Regions from separate parts of the Homo sapiens genome. Here region 2 is linked to region 1. The links are contacts of gene promoters, found by promoter capture Hi-C in human tissues and cell types (Jung and others, 2019). All regions are on one chromosome and are shown on one strand. Each heading gives the region's core, a stretch centred on a gene start or on the middle of the fragment in contact. The rest is flanking DNA. Distances are from core to core; before and after follow the strand shown.

Region 1 (6,099 bases), core at 1,006-3,505:
TTACTATCTTCATACCTTTTTACTTATTTTTCTTGTCTTATTGCTCTGGCTAGGACCTCCAGTACACTATTGTATAGAATATTGACAAGTGCCAACATCCCTTCTCATTTTCAATCTCAGTAGAAAAGCATTCACACTTTCACCACTAAACATGATGTCAGCTGTAGGGTTTTTGTTTGTTTCTTGGTTTCTTGGAGATTTGTTTTTAGGTAGATACTTTTATCAGATTAAGGAGGTTCTCTTCTGTTTCTATTTGCTAAGAGTTGTTTGTTTACATCACGGATGACTGTTTTTTGCATCTGTTGAGGTTTTCCTTTTTTCTCTCTATTAATGTGGAGAATCATGCTGATTGGTTTTTGGATGGTAAACCAATCCTACTAACCTTTTGTTCCCATTGAAATTTGCAGGTTCTAGTTCAATTCCACGAAAAGGACCTCCTGAGCTATGGGGCCTGGCTGACAACATACAAACTCCATCCTGTGCAAAGCCCTAGGCCGACCTTTCCCCCACAAACGCATACTCCACATTCCAGGTCCCAGAGAGACACCCTCGAAAACCACAGGCTTCAGAGCTGCGAGGCTTGCGCCAGCCCCTGCCCCTTGGCAAGCTGCCCCTGATTGCACCAGCCCTGGCTAGACCCTCTCCCAGCAGACCCTAGAATTGCGAGGGCAACTGGGGGGCTGGGGAGAGTCAAACCAGAAGGTCGAGGCCTCTGGCCCCTAACACCCGCGACAATCAGGGGTCTCCGGAGCCAGGGCTGCCCCTACCCTGCGCGAGGCTCCTTTAAGAGAGTCGGCCTCTGAATGGTCTCTGGGGCTGGAGGTGGAGGGCGCCAAGAATGCCGGTCTCCGACGACAGAAGCGAGAGGGATGCAGCTTCGCCGGGTGGCCTCCCCCTCGGCGTCCCACCAGCACGTCCACCCTGGATCCTCCCGCTCCTACTCCTACCCCAAGTCCCCGCCCCCAACTTCGAAGCTCCTGTGTGCCTGCAAACGCCGGCCCCGCCCCGCTCCCACCTCCAGGCCCTGCCGCTGCCAGGGACCCGCCCCTGCCAGGGACCCGCCCCCGCCCCGTCCCACCCCGGTCCACCCTGCAGCCGTCGGACCCCTGGCAGGGCCCCAGCAAACCCGGAGGCCGCCACTGGGGGGAAGGACGGGGCGCCCGGCGAGGCCTCATCCACATGCAGGGGACGGCGCGTCGCGGCGGCCGCCAGGAAGAAACAAAGGCTGTTCCGCCGCCGGCCGCACAGTGCCAGGCTCGCCCCGCCCGCCGCCCCGGTGGCCCCGACGCGGCCCCCCTGGATCTTTTCCGCCGGCCTCGGCTGCACAGTCCGGACGGCTTCCGGGAGGAGGCAGCCTCCCTCGGATCCCCGCACTCCCGACCCTCTCCCGCGACCACAGCCTCCTTCTCCGTGTCTCCCGGGCATTCCAGGTCGCCTGGCCTTCTTGAGCCGGGCTGGATCGCGCGGGACCTGCACCAGAGACCCGAGTTCTAGTCCGCTGAGCCCTCACTCTGACCTGGGACGAGGAGCCTGTAGTGAAGATCTCAGGCCAGAGGTGGCCCAGAGCCTGGTAGGGTGGGCGAGCCGTGTCCAGGACTCGTCACAGGTCTTGGGTCCCCGTGATGAGGATGAGAGCCCCCGGGATCTTCACCTCGACCCTCAGGCCTTTGATCCAGGGTGCATAGGACACCCAGACCCCTCAGAGGAGTTCCAGACCTCAACCCCCACCCCTCCTGAGGTTGTCCGCCTGGGAGCCTCAGGAGGCACGAGAAAGGGTTTGGTCTCAGCCCTGCACTTGCTCGGCGATCGCTACTGATCTCTGGGCTTCAACTTCCACCTGTAGAATGGACTCACCCTGGGAGCTGTCTCCTACACACACACACACACACACACACACACACACACACACACACACATCGTGCAGGCATAGAGTACTAAAGGGAGCACACACTGCATCCCCACACGCGGCCAGCTGTTATTCTTGCCGTCCCCCTCGGCCTCCCTGAGAGCAGGGATTGTCTTGTCTCGGAGCTCTGCTCCCCAACCCGGCCCCAAGAATGGATGTAACTCAGGCAACTGGAGGGTCCCTTCCTTCGCCCAACTGGGAAGTCCTTCCTAGATCTGCCCCAAGTCCTCTCCTTCCTTCCCAGGCCGGGACTGGGGGAGGGGGCGTTCCCTTTAAGGGAGGTGGGGGAGGGGGCTGTGGGCCGGCCCTCCTTCCGCCCCTCCCGGGCCCCCGCCGCCCGGGGCCCCCAGTCCCGGGCCCGGAGCCAGCGCATGCGCCCGCCTGTGGGCGCTGTCCCGGCTGCGAGGGCCGTGAGCTCACGGACCGACGGACCGACGGGCGGCCGGCCGGACAGACGGGGCAGCGCAGGGAGCGGGGACGCGGCGGGACAGCGACATGGCCGGCCACACGCAGCAGCCGAGCGGGCGCGGGAACCCCAGGCCTGCGCCCTCGCCCTCCCCAGTCCCAGGGACCGTCCCCGGCGCCTCGGAGCGGGTGGCGCTCAAGAAGGAGATCGGGCTGCTGAGCGCCTGCACCATCATCATCGGTGAGCGGGACCCAGGCGGGCGGGCGCCGGGCGGAGGCCGAATGAGGGGCGCAGCCGCTCCGAACGAGGGGCGTCCCCTCTCCGGGCGCTCGGACGGGTCTGCCTGGGGAACCTGCAGTCTGGCCTCAGAGAGCGCTATGACCGCGGGGAGGTCAGGGGCTGCTGGCCCAGGGTGCCAAAGCTCCGTGTTCCCACCTCCCGGCCGCCTGCACCTGGGGGAGTTTTGGGTCCCCTCCACCGCTGGACTCTTCCTCCTGACTCGATTTTGCTGCGGGGCTTTTGCAAGGCAGTTACCCTCAGTTTCCTCATCTGTGAAATGGCCATGACTGCAGTCCTGCGATTAGCGCAGGAACTTGACCAGTGTAGGGGCTGGTCAGGCTGCGGCAGGCTGAGCTCCCCAAGTTCTGTACTGTGGGTCAGTCTGAGTACCTACTGTGTGCAGGGTCCAGGTGCCACGCAGTGCAGTGACTTTATTCTTGGAAAGCAGGAGGGCCTATGAGCAGAGTGAGCAAGCGCAGCCTGCGCAGAAGGGACGGAGGTTCAGAGCAGGCAATGACTGCAGGGTTTGGCAGCAGGACCCAGGAGAGGGGGCGGGTTAGCCAGCAATTGGGGGCAGCAGTGGGCAGACCCAGCCTGCAGAAGGCCAGCTGCTCCCTGAGCTGGGATCCTGGTGGGCACTGGACACTCGCCTGGTCTGGAGGCCCTGGACTCCAAAGTCCCCACCTGAGAATGGGTCCATGTCCTGCCCCCACATAGGGGTTTCTGGGCAGGCAGAGAGCTCAGAGGTCATGGGAATGGCAGTGGTATTTTTCCACTCTCTGTCCCAAGTCATGGATACTGACTTGTTTCTTTGTCTACACAGAGTGCCTCTGAGCCCCTCCAGGGAGGGACAGGAGAAGTGGTTTGGGGGGTGAGTGACTGGGGCCTCGACTGTTCTCACCTTACCGCCAGCCAGTCTTCCCGGTCCCCTGCCAGTGAGAGCCACTTGTGTCTTCACTGCCTTCCCACCCTCAGACCCCTGGAGATGGAGAAAGTTTGGGGGCTCAGTAGGGCAGACCCAGGGTCTTCACCTCGTCCTCTCCCACCCCCACATTAGCAGCTCTTCACATCCAGAGTTGCCCCTGAACACAGCCCCTGGCCAGGTCACTCCGCCATCTCACCCCCTCCCCTTAGAATGCTGTCTCCCAGAGCCTGGTCCTGACCTGGCCCTGGGAGCTTCTTGGCCTAGGATGCCCCTGCCTGATGGACGGTCTGCTGGAAGGAAGGGCTGGTTCCAGGGATTTGGCCAGGGTGCTGGTTAGAGCTTTTTCTTGGCCCACACCCTCTCCAGGAACTGTCCTCCAGGGAAGGGGAAGCTCACACCATGAGTGGGTCATAGGATTGAGACCATGCCTAGAACCAGCTACAGTGCCAGGCAGGTGCAGAAAGACACAGCTCTGCCTGGGCTCCTCAGCTAAGCCCAGCATCCTTGACCTGTCTTCCTACTCTATCCCCTCCCCACATCCCATCCTCCCCAGGCCACAGGGAGGCTGCCTGGCTCCTTTCTCCCCAGAAAGGGGCCCTGGTGGTGGTGGTGGTGGTGGTGGTGGTGGTGGTGGTGGTGGTGGTGATGGTAGAGGTGGTGGTGGTGGGAGTGGAGAAGGCCAACTCCACTATCACCCTCCTTTTCCAGGACAGACTCTGTAAGTTTCCCATGCAGCCCAGGTCTGCCCTGACAGCTCCCCTACCCTTCAGTTCCTTCCTGCTGTGCCAGGTCCACTACCTTGGCCTCCAAACCTTGAACACTGAGCCAGGGTGAAGGGCCACTTAGCTAACCAAGGATGCTGGATTCAGCTACAGAACCCAAGCCCGGGGCACTCAGTGGTGGTCTTGGGGAGCCTTGATCTTGGCCTGGCCCGGGGAGCCTTTGAGGATTACAGCAGGCAGGAGGCTGGACGAGGCAGGAAAAAACAAGGAGATCAACCTCAACCAGAAGGTGATAGGAGGTGGGGACTGGGCAGGTGAGGACTGAGCTGGGGTCTGCACTGCCTTCCCCACCTGATGTACTAAGGGTCTCCCCTCCCCAGCCCACCCCACCTTTCTGCCCCAGGTGGGCTCACTCTCTCTCCACCAATACCCTGGGGAGCCTGGTCAGAATCAAAAATGTCTGCAAAGTGTCATATTTTAGCTCTAAAAGTCAAGAACTTGACGTCCTGCTTCCTTTCCTTTCCTTTCTTTTTCTTTCTTTTTTTTTTTTTTTTTTTCTGAGACAGAGTCTGGCTGTGTCCCCTAGGCTGGAGTGCAGTGGCACAATCTCAGCTCATTGCAACCTCCACCTCCGGGGTTCAAGTAATTCTCCTGCGTCAGCCTCCCAAGTAGCTAGGATTACAGGCACACACCACCATGTCCAGCTAATTTTTGTATTTTCAGTAGAGACAGAGTTTCACCATGTTGGCCAGGCTGGTCTCGAACTCCTAACCTCAAGTGATCTGCCTGCCTTGGCCTCCCAAAGTGCTGGGATTACAGGTGTGAGCCACCCTGCCCAGCCAACGTCCTGCTTCATAATCTACCTTGGTTTGTTATTGTTATTGAACATGTTATTTCCAAAACTTCCACAGCGACCCTCCTAGGAGATCCTGTCACTCTCTCCCTCGTGTATACCCTCTGCTCCAGCTCAGACTGGGAATTGAGGCTTTTGAGAATGGGAAGACCTGGAAGGGTGGGCTATGGGCTGGCGTGAGACTCATGTATAGTGTGTTTAGGGCAGTGCCCGCCGGCCACTGCAAGCACAGATGGAAGGGAATCGGCCAGGCTGGAGGAAATAGAACTGGCTGGGGCAGGGGCTCTGCAGGACATCATCACATCCAATATCTGTTCAGAAAAACACCTCTTACTGCCTTATGAAAACATGTTCTTCCTTTATCTCATTTGAATCTCATGCCCACCTTGCAAGGTAGGAATTTTTATACCCATTTTACAGAGTGGAAACTAAGGTTGGAAGTGAAATGATACTGCTCCAAGGGGTAGGCTCAGGATTTGGAACCAGATTTGGGCTCTGTTCCCAGTCCAGTGCCTATTTTATTTTATTTTATTTTATTTTATTTTATTTATTTTATTTTATTTTATTTATTTTATTTTATTTTATTTTATATTTTATTTTATATTTTATTTTATTAAAACAAACTCTTGCTCCATAGCACAAACTATAGTGCAGTGGCATGATCATAGCTCACTGCAGCCTCGACCTCCCAGGCTCAAGCAATCCTCCCACCTCAGCCTTCCAAACACCTGGAACCACAGGTGCCCGCCACCACACCTGGCTAATTTTTGTATTTTTTGTAGAGACTGGGTTTTGCCATGTTGCCCAGGCTGATCTCAAATTCCTAGGCTCAAGTGATCCTCCCACCTCAGCCTCCCAGAGTGTTAGGGTTACAGGCGGGAGCCATCATGCCCGGTCCCAGTGCCCTTTATACTGTTCTGATGCTGGGCAAATTGGGGCCAGAGTCAGAGCCCTGACGGGGGAGGGTTGGGGACCAAGCTGGGAGCTTGTCCAACTAGGCTTCACTGA
Region 2 (5,539 bases), core at 730-3,229, 41 kb before region 1:
GGGATTCTCCGCAGCGCTGGCCTGACTCCTTGACTCAGCAAGTCCAGGTCACCCTCTGTCCCCACCTCTGACCGAGCCCCCTGGTCGTGAGTCTGTGCGGCCGCCTGTTGGGTTCTGCTGTTCGCCACTGAGTCCCAGCCCTGGCCGTTTCCCCAGCTGTGATGTGACAGGGTCCCAGGCCCTCACCCAAACTTGGTAACAACACTCAGGACTGCCTGCTCAGCAGAGGTGGAGCCTGGACTCTGTTCCCCGGGGCCCCCTGCCTCACACTGTGTCCTGACCAGCCTGCCCTTTGCAGACCCCTCCTGCTCTGTGAGATGAGAGATGGAGTGTCTGAGAAACGTGCATGGGTCCCAGCCCGTTGTGCCCCCAAGCGGAGGGACGACAGGATCTAGAACCACGCACCAACCTCCGGAAGTGGGGCAGCTCCCAGTTCACGCAAGGGCGAGCTAGGCTGGGGCCACGTGGAAGGCAGGACAGCAGCTCCCACTCAGGGTGGGCATTGCCTGTGGCTCCTCGCTGGGTCTGGAGGCTCCTTCAGGAAGACTCTGGGGGTGAGGGAGCGGGGGCGGGAGTCAAGGGACCAGAGAGGCACATGTCACCAATTTCAGTTCTGCCCCAGCTGGCCTGAGGCAGCTCGGGACTTCCCAGGGTGGAAGGATAGGTCCGGGGGCCAGGCTACTTGGAGGCAGGGCCAGGTCTTGAGGACCCCCTCCCCAGCCCAGCTGTCTGCCGGGGAGGCAGCTCTGGGTTCCTGGAGTGGGCTGGCTACGGAGGTGTGTGCCTCCCTGGCGGCCCTCATCTCTCCCGGAGCCCTAGAGCAGGTCTTTCTAAGACTTCCCACTCATCAGCCCCGGCCCAAGATTATCACTACAAAAGACGTCCTTGGCCCACTGTCCCCTCAAAATGAAAGCTTTAAGAACAGCTGCCCAGAGGTGTCTGAGAAAAACTCCAGGATGAGAGTGAGGGGTACCAGGCCGTCAGCTCTCCCCAGGCTGAAGGATGAGGTGGAAACCACGAAAGCCCCCAAAACAAAGCCATCTTCTCCACACCTCCAGGCTGTTCCCTAAAGAAGGAAAGCGGGGAATGGGGTGGGGAGGGCGAGTGGAGCCCCCGCCTCGGGCGGTCAGCACCGGCGTCAGCAGGGAAGCAGGCCCCTGGCCAGGGAGCGCATCTGACCGGACCGACCGTGTTCTTGGGAGATCAGTTGTGAAACTTGCATCAAACCCCCAAACCACAAAAACGGCCAGTTTTCCCAGCTCTGTTCTCATGCTTCTCAGACCAGCCGAGGAGTCTTCAGCATCTCCAGCCGAGAGAAGCCAGGCCAGCTGCCAGCGCCGGGGGAGGAGAAAACCCCAAGTGCCTGGAGACCCGAGCCCCAAGTTTGCCTGAAGCACCCTGCTCCCTTCAACGAGCCTGGGAATGTGAGGTCTGGAGAAAGGGTGAGGCCTGGGCCGGCTCCACTGCACCTGGAGCCGGGTGCAGTGGCTCACGCCTGTAATCCCAACACTTTGGGAGGCCAAGGTGGGAGGATCGCTTGAGCCCAGGAGTTCAAGCACAACGTGGGCAACATAGCAAGACCCTGTCTCTACAAAAAATACAAATACTAGCCCAGTATGGTGACACATGCCTGTAATTCCAGCTACTCAGGAGGCTGAGGTGGGAGGATCACTTGATCCCACTAGTCTGAGGCCAGCTTGGGCAACATAGTGAGACCCTATCTCTATAAAAAATTAGCCAGGCATAATGGTGCTCACCTGTGGTCCCAGCTACTCAGAAAGCTGAGGCAGGAGAATCACTGAGTCTGCTAGTTTGAGACCAGCTTGGGCAACATAGTGAGACCCCATCTCTATAAAAAGTTAGCCAGGCATGGTGGTGCATGCCCGTAGTCCCAGCTACACAGGAGGCTGGGGCGGGAGGATCACTGGAGCCCAGGAGTTTGAGGCTGCAGTGAGCTGTGTTCGTGCCACTGCACTCCAGCCTGGGCAACAAAGCAAGACCCTATAATTAATAAATAAATAAATAAATAAATAAATAAATAAATAAATGGAAAAAGAAAACTGGAAATCAGAATAGAAGGACCCAGAAGCTGCCAGGGCCACCTCAGAAAGAATTCTGGAACACTGTTGCCTTGGGAAGATAACATCTGGCTGATGGAAGGTCAGAGGCAGGTTACCAGGGAAAGACTCCTGTTTGAAAAGAAGGTCACCGAGGCATCCCTCGTGTCTTCCCACTGCATTTGGTGCACAGCACATGACTCTGGTTCTCTCTCATTCAGGGCCTGGTTATAGCAGAAAGTCTGGCTCTCACTGAGCAAGGACCCAGATGGGGACACTCAGAGAGGTGGGAAAGAATCTCCCCCACCCCGCCAAGGAGGGATGCAGCTGTGCTGTAAGTGATGGTTAAAGCCATCTTTAAGAGAGGCAGGGCGCCATGGCTCACTCTTCTAATACCAGTGCTTTAAGAGGCTGAGGCAGGAGAATTGCTTAAGGCCAGGACTTTGAGACTAGCCTGGGCAACACAGCCATCTCTACAAAAAATACAGAAATTGGCTGGGCATGGTGGTGCCCACCTGTAGTCTCAGCTACTCAGGAGGCTGAGGTGGGAGGATCACTTGAGCCCGGCAGTTTGCAGCTGCGGTGAGCTATGATCGCACCCCAGCACTCCAGCCTGGGAGACAGAGTGAGACACTGTCTCTAAAAAGAAAGAGGGAAGAGAGAAGATGCCCGTAGCTGCTTTAGGTGACAAACGGCCTTGAAGCCGTGAAGGCCCACTCCCTTCCACAGGGAATGCAGCCCCATCTCCGCAAGCCAGTCTCTGAGGCCACCCCTTCTTGCTTCCTCCGCCAGATACCCTGCCCAGCCCCCTCCCCCAAAATGAAGCCAGGTGGGGACCCTCTGTGCTGCTGGCCTCCAGGCCCTGCCCTGCTGCCCCTGCCTTCAGCCCCTACCACCCACACCACCCTGAAACCCTTCCTCTCCCTGGCCACTGTACCTCTCCCAGACCGGCGGTTTGCCTCCAGCTGGAGCCTCCTGGAGGCTGGGAGAGAACCCCTCGCCTGGGTTAACTTTAGTGGTGATTCTAGAAGCAGGACGCTGCTGAGGAAAAGGCCAAACTGTAGCTTTGTCCGCTCCACCCCAAGCCTTTGCCTGAGCTGGAACTTTCCTCTAACAAGCCCTGTAAGAGGAGCTTCACACCATGCTCCCTGTGTGAACCATGGTACCTGTGAGTATTGGCAATGATATTATGCCAATGTGCTATTATGTGCATTTAGCATAAAAGCCACTTGTAAGTAGTCACGTGGCAAGACCACGGCTGGGGCCCAGAGAATCCTGCTGGGGGCCCATAACATGGGATTGGCCCCCTGGAGCTAAGGCCAGGGCTGCAGTGCAGGAGGCCCACACCCGCAGGGGATCCTGCCCGAGGGGCAGGGCTGGATGAGAGGCAGTGAGCCCAGAGCATAGACAGAAGACAGTGGGCGTGTGTGTGTCTTGGTCACTGCGTGCGTCTCTAGGTAACTTTGGTTTGCACGTTTGTGAGGTTGAGCGTCTGTCAATGTGAGTTTCCGTGCATGGCTGGTGACTGCATTTGTGTGTCTGTGCATGGGCCTGGGTACATCCGTGTCTCTCGGTGTGTTTATGGATCTGTTCATTCAATCACTGCCTGGTGCGGCCAGGCCCTAGACAGACTGGAGGGCTCGGTCCCTGCCCCATCAGGCCCACAGTCTGGCAGGAGGTGAGCAGGAAGTAGGAATTACACCCATAATCCCTAGGCAGGATGGTGACAGGGGGAGCTCACGCCTCGAGGGTGGAAGCCCCGAGACAAGGGACCTGCTGCAGCTTGGCACTCGGGGACCCTGGATGCTTTCATGAAGGACAGGAAAGCCGAGTGCCATAGGAGGCATGGGAGTTGTCATGGGGAGGAGAGTTTTCCAGGCAGAGGGGAGAGCATTTGCAAAAGCCGGGGCACTGAGGAGGGGTCGAGGCAGAACTGCAGGTGCTAGGAAGCCAAGGGGTGTGGGAGGTGAGGGCAGGAAGGACAGGAGCTAGACACGCAAGCCTGGAGGCCACCATGATAATGGTGGCTGCTTCCTAGAACCGTGGGAAGGTGAAGTTCGGAAAGCAGCCCGATCATGTGGTCATTTAATAATACGACCATTCTGGGCCGGGCACGGTGGCTCACGCCTGTAATCCCAGCACTTTGGGAGGCCAAGGCGGGCAGATCACGAGGTCAGGAGATCGAGACCATCCCGGCTAACACAGTGAAACCCCATCTCCACTAAAAATACAAAAAATTAGCCGGGGGTGGTGGCGGGCACCTGTAGTCCCAGCTACTCGGGAGGCTGAGGCAGGAGAATGGCGTGAACCTGGGAGGCGGAGCTTGCAGTGAGCTGACACTGCACCACTGCACTCCAGCCTGGGCGACAGAGCAAGACTCCATCTCAAAAAAATAAAATAAAATAAAATAATAATAATAATATGGCCACTCTGTTGGCTAAGAGCCTGGATGAGGCCAGAGCTGCCATCCCATGAAGAGAGATGGTGGCTGGGGACGTGGGGCGGCAGGGGAAGACGTGGACAGGTGCGGGCATGCAGAGGCAATGGAAGGGTGACAGGCAAGGCCTGGCGACGGCTCAGGTGTCAAGGGCCAGGAGGTGTACATGCTGTGTGTGCACACGTGTGCACGTGAGCCTGTACAAACGCCTGCCAGGAGCTCAGGCCAGGCCCTCTCTCCTCTCCCTCTCCCCTCTCCAATCTCTTGCCCGTGTCCCCCACAGCCTCGCCGCGGACATGACAGTGACGGTAAGAAGGACTCAGTGTTGCAACTGCATTTCCTCTCGAACCCAGGGCCGCCAGAGATTAGCTGAGAGCCCCGTGTGCACTGGGCGATAACACCCCCACCACTCCCCCCGCTTCCTAATCTCTGATTCATTTCCAACTGATAACAGCATGAGGGCCCATGGGCGACGAAGAAACACCCCAGTGGGTCCTACCAAGGCCACTGTCAAGCCACGTGCAGGGACTCCGGGGAGCAGAGACAGGGAGGGCGAAGACCAGGGGTGATTGCAGAGGCAGAGACAGAGAGAGGAAGAAAGAGAATGAGAAGAGAGAGAGAAAATGAAAATGGGGAGAGAATGAGAGAGGGGGAGAAAGAGAGGGAGGGGAGGGCAGCGGGAATGGTCGACGGGTGCAAAAATATGGTTAGGTAGAATGACTAAGATCCAGGATTGATGCATGCAGGCCTTAATACCCAGGTGATGGGTTGATCTGTGCAGCAAACCACCATGGCACGCGTTGACCTATGTAACAAATCTGCACGTCCTGCACATGTATCCCAGAACTTAAAATAATTTTTTTAAAAAAAAGATTCAGTATTTAATAGCACAACAGGGTGATGACAGTCACCAAGAATTTACTGTACATTTAAAAATAATTAAAAGAGCATGATGAGAATGTTTGTAACACAGAGAAAAGATAAATGCTTGAGGGACGGAGACCCCATTAACCCTGATGGATCATGACACATTGCATGCCTGTAT

The links. Contacts are between HindIII fragments. The study calls those that stand out against the background at their distance.
Region 2: a fragment that was not itself captured here is called in contact with the fragment with the promoter of SLC7A10 in region 1 in 1 of the 25 tissues and cell types used here (spleen).

What each region holds. Positions count from the first base shown.
Region 1 is chr19:33,222,006-33,228,104 of GRCh38, reverse strand. SLC7A10 (solute carrier family 7 member 10) reads left to right here and starts at 2,255. Exons shown (of 11, transcript NM_019849.3): 1 at 2,255-2,552. The coding sequence starts at 2,402. The HindIII fragment of the contact is 48,714 bases long and covers 1-6,099 here.
Region 2 is chr19:33,262,890-33,268,428 of GRCh38, reverse strand. No RefSeq gene overlaps it. Among named protein-coding and RNA genes, the nearest start is that of CEBPA, 37 kb to the left of the region's middle. The HindIII fragment of the contact is 4,860 bases long and covers 1-4,409 here.